2 separate regions of the Homo sapiens genome follow, and region 2 is linked to region 1. Evidence: promoter capture Hi-C in 16 types of primary human blood cells and fetal thymus (Javierre and others, 2016). All regions are on one chromosome and are shown on one strand. The core of a region is centred on a gene start or on the middle of the fragment in contact, and the rest is flanking DNA. Distances in the headings are between cores, read along the strand shown.

Region 1 (4,955 bases), core at 1,592-4,091:
TTTCCAGCTTCATCCATGTCCCTGCAAAGGACATGAACTCACCCTTTTTTATGGATGCATAGTATTCCATGGTGTATATGTGCCACATTTTCTTTATCCAGTCTATCACTAATGGGCATTTGGGTTGGTTCCTTTATGTTACGTTCAAGTCATGAGGAACATACACTTCAACAAACAGTATGATTTTCTATATACTCATGGTTTTGCTCATAGTACCAGCTCCACTATTCCTTTTCCAGGTATTATCTGATTCTCTCCACCTATCAAGTGATATGGCCTTTCTAAAATTGATTTCAGCACAATACACAAATATCAATCATAATACTTCATATTTGTACAGACTACCTGTTTGTGGTTGTGTCTCCATTATTAGACTTTATTGTGGGAATATGTGAATAGCAAGGACAGTATCAGTCAGCTTAGAATCCTTAGAAATGTAGTAGCAATTTATTAGAAACACAACTTTAATATGATTTCAATAAATATTCAACTGCCCTAGCAATACTAGTTGTATAATTAATAAGCAAATTAGTTCCCGCTAAATAGCCAGAAAGCAAAATTGTCCACAGCAATAATGGTCACCAAAAGATAGCCAAATCTCATCCAGTAGAGAAACTGCTGAATCAAGTGGTAGTTAGACTTTTAGCTCTTTATGGAATCTCCACACTGTTTTCCATAGTGGCTGTATTAGTTTCCATTCCAGCCAGCAGTGTAGAAGTGTTCCCTTTCACTGCATCCACACCAACATCATCTATGATTTTTTTATTTTTTATAATGGCCATTCTTATGTGAGTAAGGTGGTATTTCATTGTGTATTGCATGTTTATAGCAGCAAAATTTACAATTGCAAAAACGTGGAACCAGCCCAAATGCCCATCATTCAAAGAGTAGATAAAGAAACTGGTGTATATATGTATATACCACACACACATATATGATGTATACCATACATACATGCATATATACCATATATATGCACCACATATACACCATGTATTTGATGGAATACTACTCATTCATGAAAAGGAATGAATTAATGTCATTTGCAACAACCTGGATGGGATTGGAGACTATTATTCTAAGTGAGGTAACTCAGGAACAGAAAACTAAACACTGTATGTTCTCACTTATAAGTGGGAGCTAAGCTATGAGGATGTGAAGACATAAGAATGATACAATGGACTTTGGGGACTCAGGGGGAAAGGATGGGAAGCCAGTGAGGAATAAAAGACTACTAATTGGGTTCAGTGTATACTGCTCAGGTGACGGGTACACCAAAATCTCACAAATCACCACTAAAGAACTTACTCATGTAACCAAATACCACCTGTTCCCCAAAAACCTATAGAAATAATAAAAAAGAATATGTTTAATGAAGAATTAAAAAAAAAATAACTGATGCTAAAAGGACCTGCGAGCAAAGAAGGTGGTACACATGAATAATTTCAAACATCTGTAGAAAACACACACAAAAATAATGAGTAACATGGGGGTCAAAATCATGATAAACTAAAATACTTGACAACAACATGTAATGTGCTAAAGGGTAGGGCACTGATAAGAGTTCACCATTCCAGGATTCTTTTATTATTTGATGATAGAGACATAATTAGCATTATACTTTGTTAAAATATTAATGGCGGGTCATAAAGGATATAAGAAGGATGCCTATCTCTGGACCAGAAAAAGAAATGCAAAATTATAGAGAAAATGTTACTATTTTAAAGGAAGGTAGAACAGCAACAAAGTGAAGAATAGACATAGAGAGGGGATTTTTAAAGTTCCAATTAGATGTTAGGAAACTCCCAGATGTATCAGTGAAAAGTTAAGTTCAGCAGTTAGAAGGTATGGGTTTTTAGATTGGGAAAACTATACATAATGATTTAATTTGGCCCTAACTTTCTGAAAAGCACTGAGTCAATGTTTATCAATAATCTCAAGTTGATTTACCCTTTTTAGCTAAATAATAGCACTTCTAGACATTTATCCTGAAGTCACCAGAAATTCAATTAAAGAAATATACACAACCAAACATTACATGGACACTCAACACACACATATGTAGAAAATATGATATTCTAAAATCACTAAAATTATGTCTTAATATTCAATGTCATGAGAATGCTTATGTCATAGTGCCATGGAAAAAAAAATAAGTTTCTTAAACCCTTTGCCCAATAAGGTTAGCTTTCCTTTTCTGCATAAGAAGATGAAAATAAATTGTAAAAACGTTAACAGAAGTTATTTCTTGATGTCGGATCATTGGCAGTCAACTTTTTTCTCATAATAAACTTGTGATATTATAATCATGAAAATCTACCATATTTGTCAGAGAAACATTGTTATTGTATAAGGTAGAACTCAGAAAGTACACCTCGAACATACTTCATATGTTGTATAGTTCGGTTAAGGCCAGCACTGTCAAGGTTATTTAAATTTCTTGTACATTTCTTATACATGCACATTTCTTTACAATTTTACATGCATGTGCATATGTGTGTGTGCAAATGCATATGAATTTTATAAGAATCTTGAGGCAGTTAAAATTATCAGCATCCCCTGTTGACTCATTAGGAGACTGAATGTTAGAGAGATTTTCAGTATCTTGGTTTGTAGGACTTTACCTGGTGCTTTTTAGATTCTGTGTTCACTGTGACAGTATCTCAAAATATGTACAGAATACTGATATATGTCCTAAATATGTGGATTTATTTCTATAAGGATACTGAACAACAATCGTAATGGTCCAGTTTGGTGAGTATGTAGATATGCACGCGACCACCTCAGTCTCAGTTCACACATTCCCACTGCTTATAGGAGCACCAGGGGCAAACAGTGTCCAGATGTGAGTCCTCAATGAGCTATAACCACAGCCATAAATATCTCTCAAAGATGAGGAACATTCTCATGATGTTGACACTGCAATTTTTTGACAATTTCCCAACACTCTTAAGAAACATTCCCCAATCTCACACGAAAAGTGGGGGTTTTAATTTTCTTGTTCAACTTCTAAAGAGAAATTGGAGAAGATAAAACTGGACACTGGGGAGACCACAACTTCATGCTGCGTGGGATCTCCCAGCTACCTGCAGTGGCCACCATGTCTTGGGTCCTGCTGCCTGTACTTTGGCTCATTGTTCAAACTCAAGGTACGTACCATCACACCAGCATTTTACATAAAAGTCAAATTATTTGATGAATGTTTAAAGTGCCTTTTGAAAAAAAATGGCATATGTTTTTATGGTCGAAAGACCATTACCATTTGCATTTTGGTAGATTTTCTACCTCTCTGCAAAAGCGAACTATATATACATAAGTATGTGTATCTTTTTGAGTGAGGATATTTTAAACCACTATATGAAACATGGATTCTAAAATTTGTCCTATTTCCTCCAATTGTTATATATTTTAACAAATTTTATGTTTGCACAATATTTTCCAAAATAGAGGAAAAAAAAGCTACATATTGTTCCATTCATTATGTCTTTTCTCTACTAAATAAAATTTTATTAACATCTTCATGAATCATGGCTGTTTAAAAAATCTGCACTTTGGGATATTTCCTTGAGAAAAATTCTTAAAAGCAGAATGACAGGGTCAAAATGACTAGTTCTGGAAAAGGAACCCTTTTTGTCTTTGAGATTGATTATTGATATTATTGATAGATGAACCATTTTGATGACACACTATACACACCCTACAAATAATTTTCAAGTCACTGGTTATTTTACTAGTGATCACATAATAAGCATGTTAAAAGCCAAGCTGTAAACCTACGTATTTCCATGTATAAACACATTTGTGCTAAACCCTATATTGAAACAGGTAAAGTACATAGCTGAGGAGTTATCCAAGCTCCCCACAAAATTCCCACTTGCCTAAAAGTTGCCGTGCAAAAGCTGCACACATACGGCTGGCTCTAGCCTTCATATTCTTTTACATTTCCTCATTGTGCATCACCAATACTATACCCAAAAGAAGGATAAAATGGAGTAATTATTATACCAATAATTATGCGATATATACACACAGCTTACTGAAGTCTTCAAATTCAATTATTTGATCCATATAAACATATAAAGACAGGCTTATAGTCAACACTTTGTAATTTGCATAATGATTTAGTAAGGATGTCTCTGGAACTGTATTTCTTATTTAATAACTCTACTAGATCTATTTTCTTTTCTAAAACACACCATCCCAATGACAACACAGAACTAACTTCCTGGCCAAAAATCAAATCCATGTATTTAAGACAACTTCCGAATCATAGCTCTGCTAGGATGAAAGACAGAGAAGAGTTTAAAATAGAATGAGGGCTAAATCATATATAACTGCATTATTAAACAAAAATCAGATGTAATACATTATAATTGCATTATTAAACAAAAGAAAACATTAATTGACCAACTGAACAACTGTGCCTGTGCTGTCGGATGAGAATTAATTGTACCTAAAGAGAAGTCAAACAACATGTAATGAAATAGAACTTGATTGAAATAAAAAAAAAAATCTACATATCTTTTTTCCCCCCATTCCTCAGAGGTCTCAAAATACTCATAGATACATTTCTAGAAAAGTGAAACTTGTTTCTATTAATATTGTTCTCACAATATTCTGCTGAAAAAGTCACTGAAATACTTCTGAATTTGATGATAGTCTATGATGCCCATAGTGCCCAAGTAGCCCTACATTTTTAAACATTCCTCCCTATTACTTTAGATAACCCAATAGTTAACAATGAAAGCTATTATTTTGGAAGATATTCATTAGGTTGCAGTTAACTATATAATTTTATACCTGGTAATGTTCTTATGTTTACCCATACACAATCTTATCTGGTAAATTATTCTTCTTTCAATCTCACAACTTTCTGGAACTTCCATAAAATCTTACCATCATTTTTAACAGTGCATGAAACAATCATTTTCAAACAAACTTGTACTCACTGAACT
Region 2 (4,955 bases), core at 1,431-3,930, 65 kb before region 1:
AAGCTGGAATGATGTGAAACTCTAAAATATGTCTCAGCCCAAGCATTAAGGTTTACCTGCCCACTCTTCTTTCTCCTTATTTATTTTTTAAATTAAAAGCCATTTATGGAAAGCCGCTGATAACATCATAATCAATCGGAAAGCAGAAATAGCCATTCTTCTGGTACCAGGCAAGGATGCCTACTCTTACCACTTCTATTAAACATGTACCAGAAGTACTATCAAAAGCATTTAGAAAAGACACATTCAACTTGGAAATGAAGAAGTAAAATTACCTCTATTTGCAGATGAAATGATTCTACCTGTAAAAAACCCTAATGACTCCACTGAAAAACCATTAACACTAACAAATAAGTTCAATAAAGTTGCAGGATATAAAATCAACATACAAAATCTGTGACATTTCTATACACGAATAACAACCTAGCCAAAAATGAAATCAAGAACACCATTCCATTTATAACATAAATAATACTTGGGAATAAATTTTACTAAGGAGGTGAAAGACCTGTATACCGAAGACAATAAAACATTAATGAAGGAAATTGAAGAAAATGCAAATAAATGAATATCCCATGCTCATGAATTAGAAGAATGTTGTTAAAATGTTCATACTACCTAAAGCAATGAGTAGATTCAATGCAGTCCTTATAAAAACCCCAATGACAGTATTTACAGAAATCAGAAAAAAATCATAAAATTTGTATGGAACCACAGAATATCCCAAATAGTCAAAGGAATTCTGAGAAAAAAAAAGACATCATACTACCTGATTTAAAGTTATATTACAAAGATATAGTAATCGAAAGAGTATAATGGCATAAAACCAGACACCTAGACCAGTGGATGAGAATAGCAATCTCGGAAATAAATCCAAACATATACGTTCAATTAATTTTTGACAAGGGCACCAAAAAGACACACTGGGGAAAGGATAGTCTCTTCAATAAATAGTGCTGGGAAAACTGGATATCCACATGCAAAATTATGAAATCGAACCCTTTTCTTATACCATAACTAAAATTCAAATCAAAATGAAAAAGAAACCTAAATGTAATACCTAAAACCATAAAACTCCTAAAAGAAAATAGAGGGGAAAAGCTGTTTGACATTAACCTTGACAATGACTTCTTAAATATCATACCTAAAAGCTAAGGTTATAAAAGTAAAATGTAAGAGACTATATCAAACGAAAAAGCTTCTGCACAGCAAAGCAAACAAACAAAATGAAAAGGAATCTAAAAAAGGGGGTGAGGGTGAGTGTCAAATATATAGAGGTAGAGAATAAAACAGTGGTTACCAGGGTCTAGGTAGGGACAGGAAATGGGGAGATTCGGGTCTAAGGATACCAAGTAGCCAAATATGCGGGGTTAAGCAGTTGAAAGATCTAGGGTACAATATGAGGACTGTTAAGGACAAAAAGTAGACAAATTTAACAGAGTTTAATTGAGCAAAGAAAGGTTTGAGAATCCAGCAGCCCTCAGAACCAGAAGATGTTGAGAGCAATTCCATGCTGGTCGTTGGTTGGAGAGGATTTATAGACAGAAAAATGACATACAGAAAAATGGATTAAGGTACAGAAACAGCTGCACCGGTTACAGCTTGATGTTTGCCTTACTTGAACACGGTTTGAACAGTTGGCCACCTTTGATTGGCCAGAAGTTGGTGAAACTCCTAGCTATATGTTGCTGTGAATATCAACTCCTGGGTTTGCTTGTACAGGGCCTCTTATCCCTCTGTTTCCATTCCTTGGTAACTACGTGGAAAGAGCTTTGCTTTTGAGACATTTTATCGTTTTGGCTTTCCTCTACCTCAGGAGTGCTACTCCTCATTTCATTTCTGTCACCCTTACTCTGATTGACTGGTAAATATTAGAGAACCTCACATAGCTCAATCCTGGATCTTTATCTATACATTCTTCCTAGGTAATCTTACCCTGCCCTGTGCCTTATTTAAATAGGAACTGTGCACTAATGGCCATCAGACGTTTATCTCTAGCCTCTGCCCCTCTCCTAAAGGCCAGACTGTTATAATTATCTTTTTAATATATCTACTCAAACACCTGATATCACAAACCTAAAATATGCCCCCAAAAGAACTACCAATTTCTAAACCACAAACAAAACCTACTTCTCTCTCATTCTCCCCATTTTACTTAACACTACCACCACTCATCATTTGTTCAAATTTGGATCTAGAAATTATCCTTGATTCTCTTTTTCTTCATCCCGCCTTATATGGTATCCATCAGCAAGTGCCTCCGACATATTTCAGATCTTTTACTTTGCTCCCTTTTCTGACTACCCCAAGGTGCCATCTCATAATAACCATGGCAACAGCCTCTGCCTGACCTGCCCATCCTCGTTCAGCAGAATCCACACTCCACACAATCAATCCAGTGCTATTTTTATTGTAAATCACATCACATCCGTTTTCTGCTCAAAGCCCTCCGATGTCTTCCCATTGCATTTAGTATAAAAGCCACACAACTGACCATGGGTCACAAACCCCTATACGATTGTGGTCCCATAGACCTCTCTGGTCTCCTCCTACTCTTTACTCCCCGTCTCTTGGTGACCTCCCCCATTATGTTATAAAAACACAAGCACTTTTTTTCTATGCTCTAAATATGCCAATACTATTTCACCTTGGAGTCTATTTACTCATTTTTTTTCCCTGCTGGAATTGTCTTCCAATTTCTCTTTCCTTGCCTGGCTTCTCATTTTCGTTAATACATCTGCTTGAGGGCCAGCTCTTTAGAGAATTTCACCTATTCTGAAATAACTACCTAGTAACTCAATGTCACATGCCCACTTTAATCCTTCACATAGTACTGGCCACCATCTGATATGTTTATGTTTGTCTCTTGGTCTCTCTGCTGATGGAGCTCACATGGTGATTTCACTACTGCATTTGCAGTTCCCAGAGCACTCTCAGTGTATTGTAAGTGCTAATAAATATTTCGTTCCCATGGAGGGTAGGAAGTAAGTACATGTCTCATCAGATAATACCTAAAAATCTATCTTCAGGAGTTTCTTCTTTGTAATCGAACTTTAGTTACCTATTAAAAGACATGCACTTCCAGAAATGCAATCTAATAAACTTTGATGAGCTATTATTTAGTAGGAATAATCTGTTGGTCCCTTTTCAATGAGTCAATCCACTATGTAACTTTTTTTTTTTTTGAGATAGAGAAAGGAACAGAACATTGGTAAGTTTGAAACATGGGAAGGAGATTCAACTCTGCCTGAAGAGAACAAAGTAGACTAGAAACAATGGTGTCTCTGCATTGCACCATTGATAACGGAGCATGTATTTCACCAGGATATGAATTAAAGGCTACCAAAGAAAACAAAAAAACAAACTGACTAAAAACACTAGGAGGATGCTGAAGTCAAACTTTCTCTATTTTGTGTCAGGATGGTGAAGAAGTCTACTGTTCAAAACAATAGAAAGACTGGTTTTATTTCTAGCTCCCCTATTGTAACATAATTTAGACCCCTTGATAAAAGGAAGGAATCAGACCAGAATATTGCTGGTGTCCCTTCACCTCCAAATTTATGAGCCTTGTCAGTAGATAATCCTGTCGGTTGAATTGGTGTTAAAATGCTAATATTGTCTGCCTTTACTCCAGATATCAACCAACTGCTTATAAAATTACAGATGTCAAATAATAGAAGAACTTTTGCAGAAAACAATATTGTATCAGTAATTCTACTCTTTATATTTCAGAAATTGAAAGACAGGAAGGTTCAGGAACATGAGAAATACATAGAATATTATTTGGTCCTGGATAATGGTGAGGTAATTATATGAGATAAATGTGCTGTCTTCCAAAACTCCCACCCACATATATTTATTTATTATGTGAGACATTAAATATCTGGATGAGATTTAAAGAATCATGAATATGAGCTATGGTTACATGTTCTTCTAAAACTATGAAATTTGACATTTATAATTAAGCTGATATGACTTCTTTTCAGAGCGATCAGGGCAATTGATATGATATGCATAAATTGTTGGCACTTATAACACTATTTTCTTATTGACTTAAGAGTACCCAACTTAGTTTCCAATTACATTCTTCTGTCATTTTGTCTTTTGTTAAGTTGTTAAATCATTTGTAAATTAAACTTTATTCTCATTAGGGAGTCAATACAAAAGCTTAATTGGTCACAATGAAAGCTTAGTGAATGGAATCCTCTGAAAAGGCAAATCTTTGGTAATAGTCACTGTTTATCTTCTACTGTAAGAATGCATTTTCATATACTGTGTTTTCAAAATTTAAAATGCACATGTGTATGAAAATATAAGTCAACCATTAGCTCAGGCCCTAAAGCTTTGGTCTTACTTACTGTGCTTAATTCATGTACTGTTCATGTATGTGTCTCTTAAATTAATAAGATATTCCTTCTGTTAATTCTGCACACCTTAGAAAACCATAGAATTTAAGTGAAAATACATTTGGAGTAATTCTTTAGAGCTTTATACTGAGCTAGTACTTCAGAAGAGAAAACATCATATTCACTCCCAAAGTGCTTTAATGTAGCTAGATGAATAGGAATTAATTTGATTCTAACTTTTAATTAAATCTAATAACTAATCTTTAATTAAAATCAATAATAAGTAATATAAGAGAAGATGCCTTTTTAACCTTCCAAGTATATTCATTTTTATCAATGCCCATATTCTTTCTTAATTTTTCTTTTAGTTTAAAAGGTACAATGAGAATCAAGATGAGATCAGAAAGAGGGTATTTGAGATGGCTAATTATGTCAACATGGTAAGACATATTTTATTACCTGCAGTTTTAAACAGTTTGCTGGGAGATGTCACTGGGTTTTTCAATGAACGCACATGAAGCATGGAAGCAAAGTCAAGACATTTGAGACCAATGTGGCTGACTGGCTCCCAAAGGATGACCACAACTTTTGCTACATAGGTGAACATGA

Evidence for each region. The method cuts DNA at HindIII sites, captures the fragments that hold promoters and counts their contacts. A CHiCAGO score of 5 or more calls a contact.
Region 2: a contact is called between a fragment that was not itself captured here and the fragment with the promoter of ADAMDEC1 in region 1, in 2 of 17 cell types (total B cells and naive B cells). The highest score is 6.1, in total B cells.

Annotation. Positions count from the first base shown.
Region 1 is chr8:24,381,444-24,386,398 of GRCh38, forward strand. It overlaps ADAMDEC1 (ADAM like decysin 1), which reads left to right and starts at 2,842. Exons shown (of 14, transcript NM_014479.3): 1 at 2,842-3,149. The coding sequence starts at 3,062. All of the region lies in intron 3 of ADAM7-AS1 (ADAM7, ADAMDEC1 and ADAM28 antisense RNA 1), which reads right to left. The HindIII fragment of the contact is 13,825 bases long and covers 1-4,955 here.
Region 2 is chr8:24,316,504-24,321,458 of GRCh38, forward strand. It overlaps ADAM28 (ADAM metallopeptidase domain 28), which reads left to right. Exons shown (of 23, transcript NM_014265.6): 7 at 3,733-3,804; 8 at 4,715-4,786. All of the region lies in intron 3 of ADAM7-AS1 (ADAM7, ADAMDEC1 and ADAM28 antisense RNA 1), which reads right to left. Among named protein-coding and RNA genes, the nearest start is that of ADAM28, 25 kb to the left of the region's middle. The HindIII fragment of the contact is 2,969 bases long and covers 1,197-4,165 here.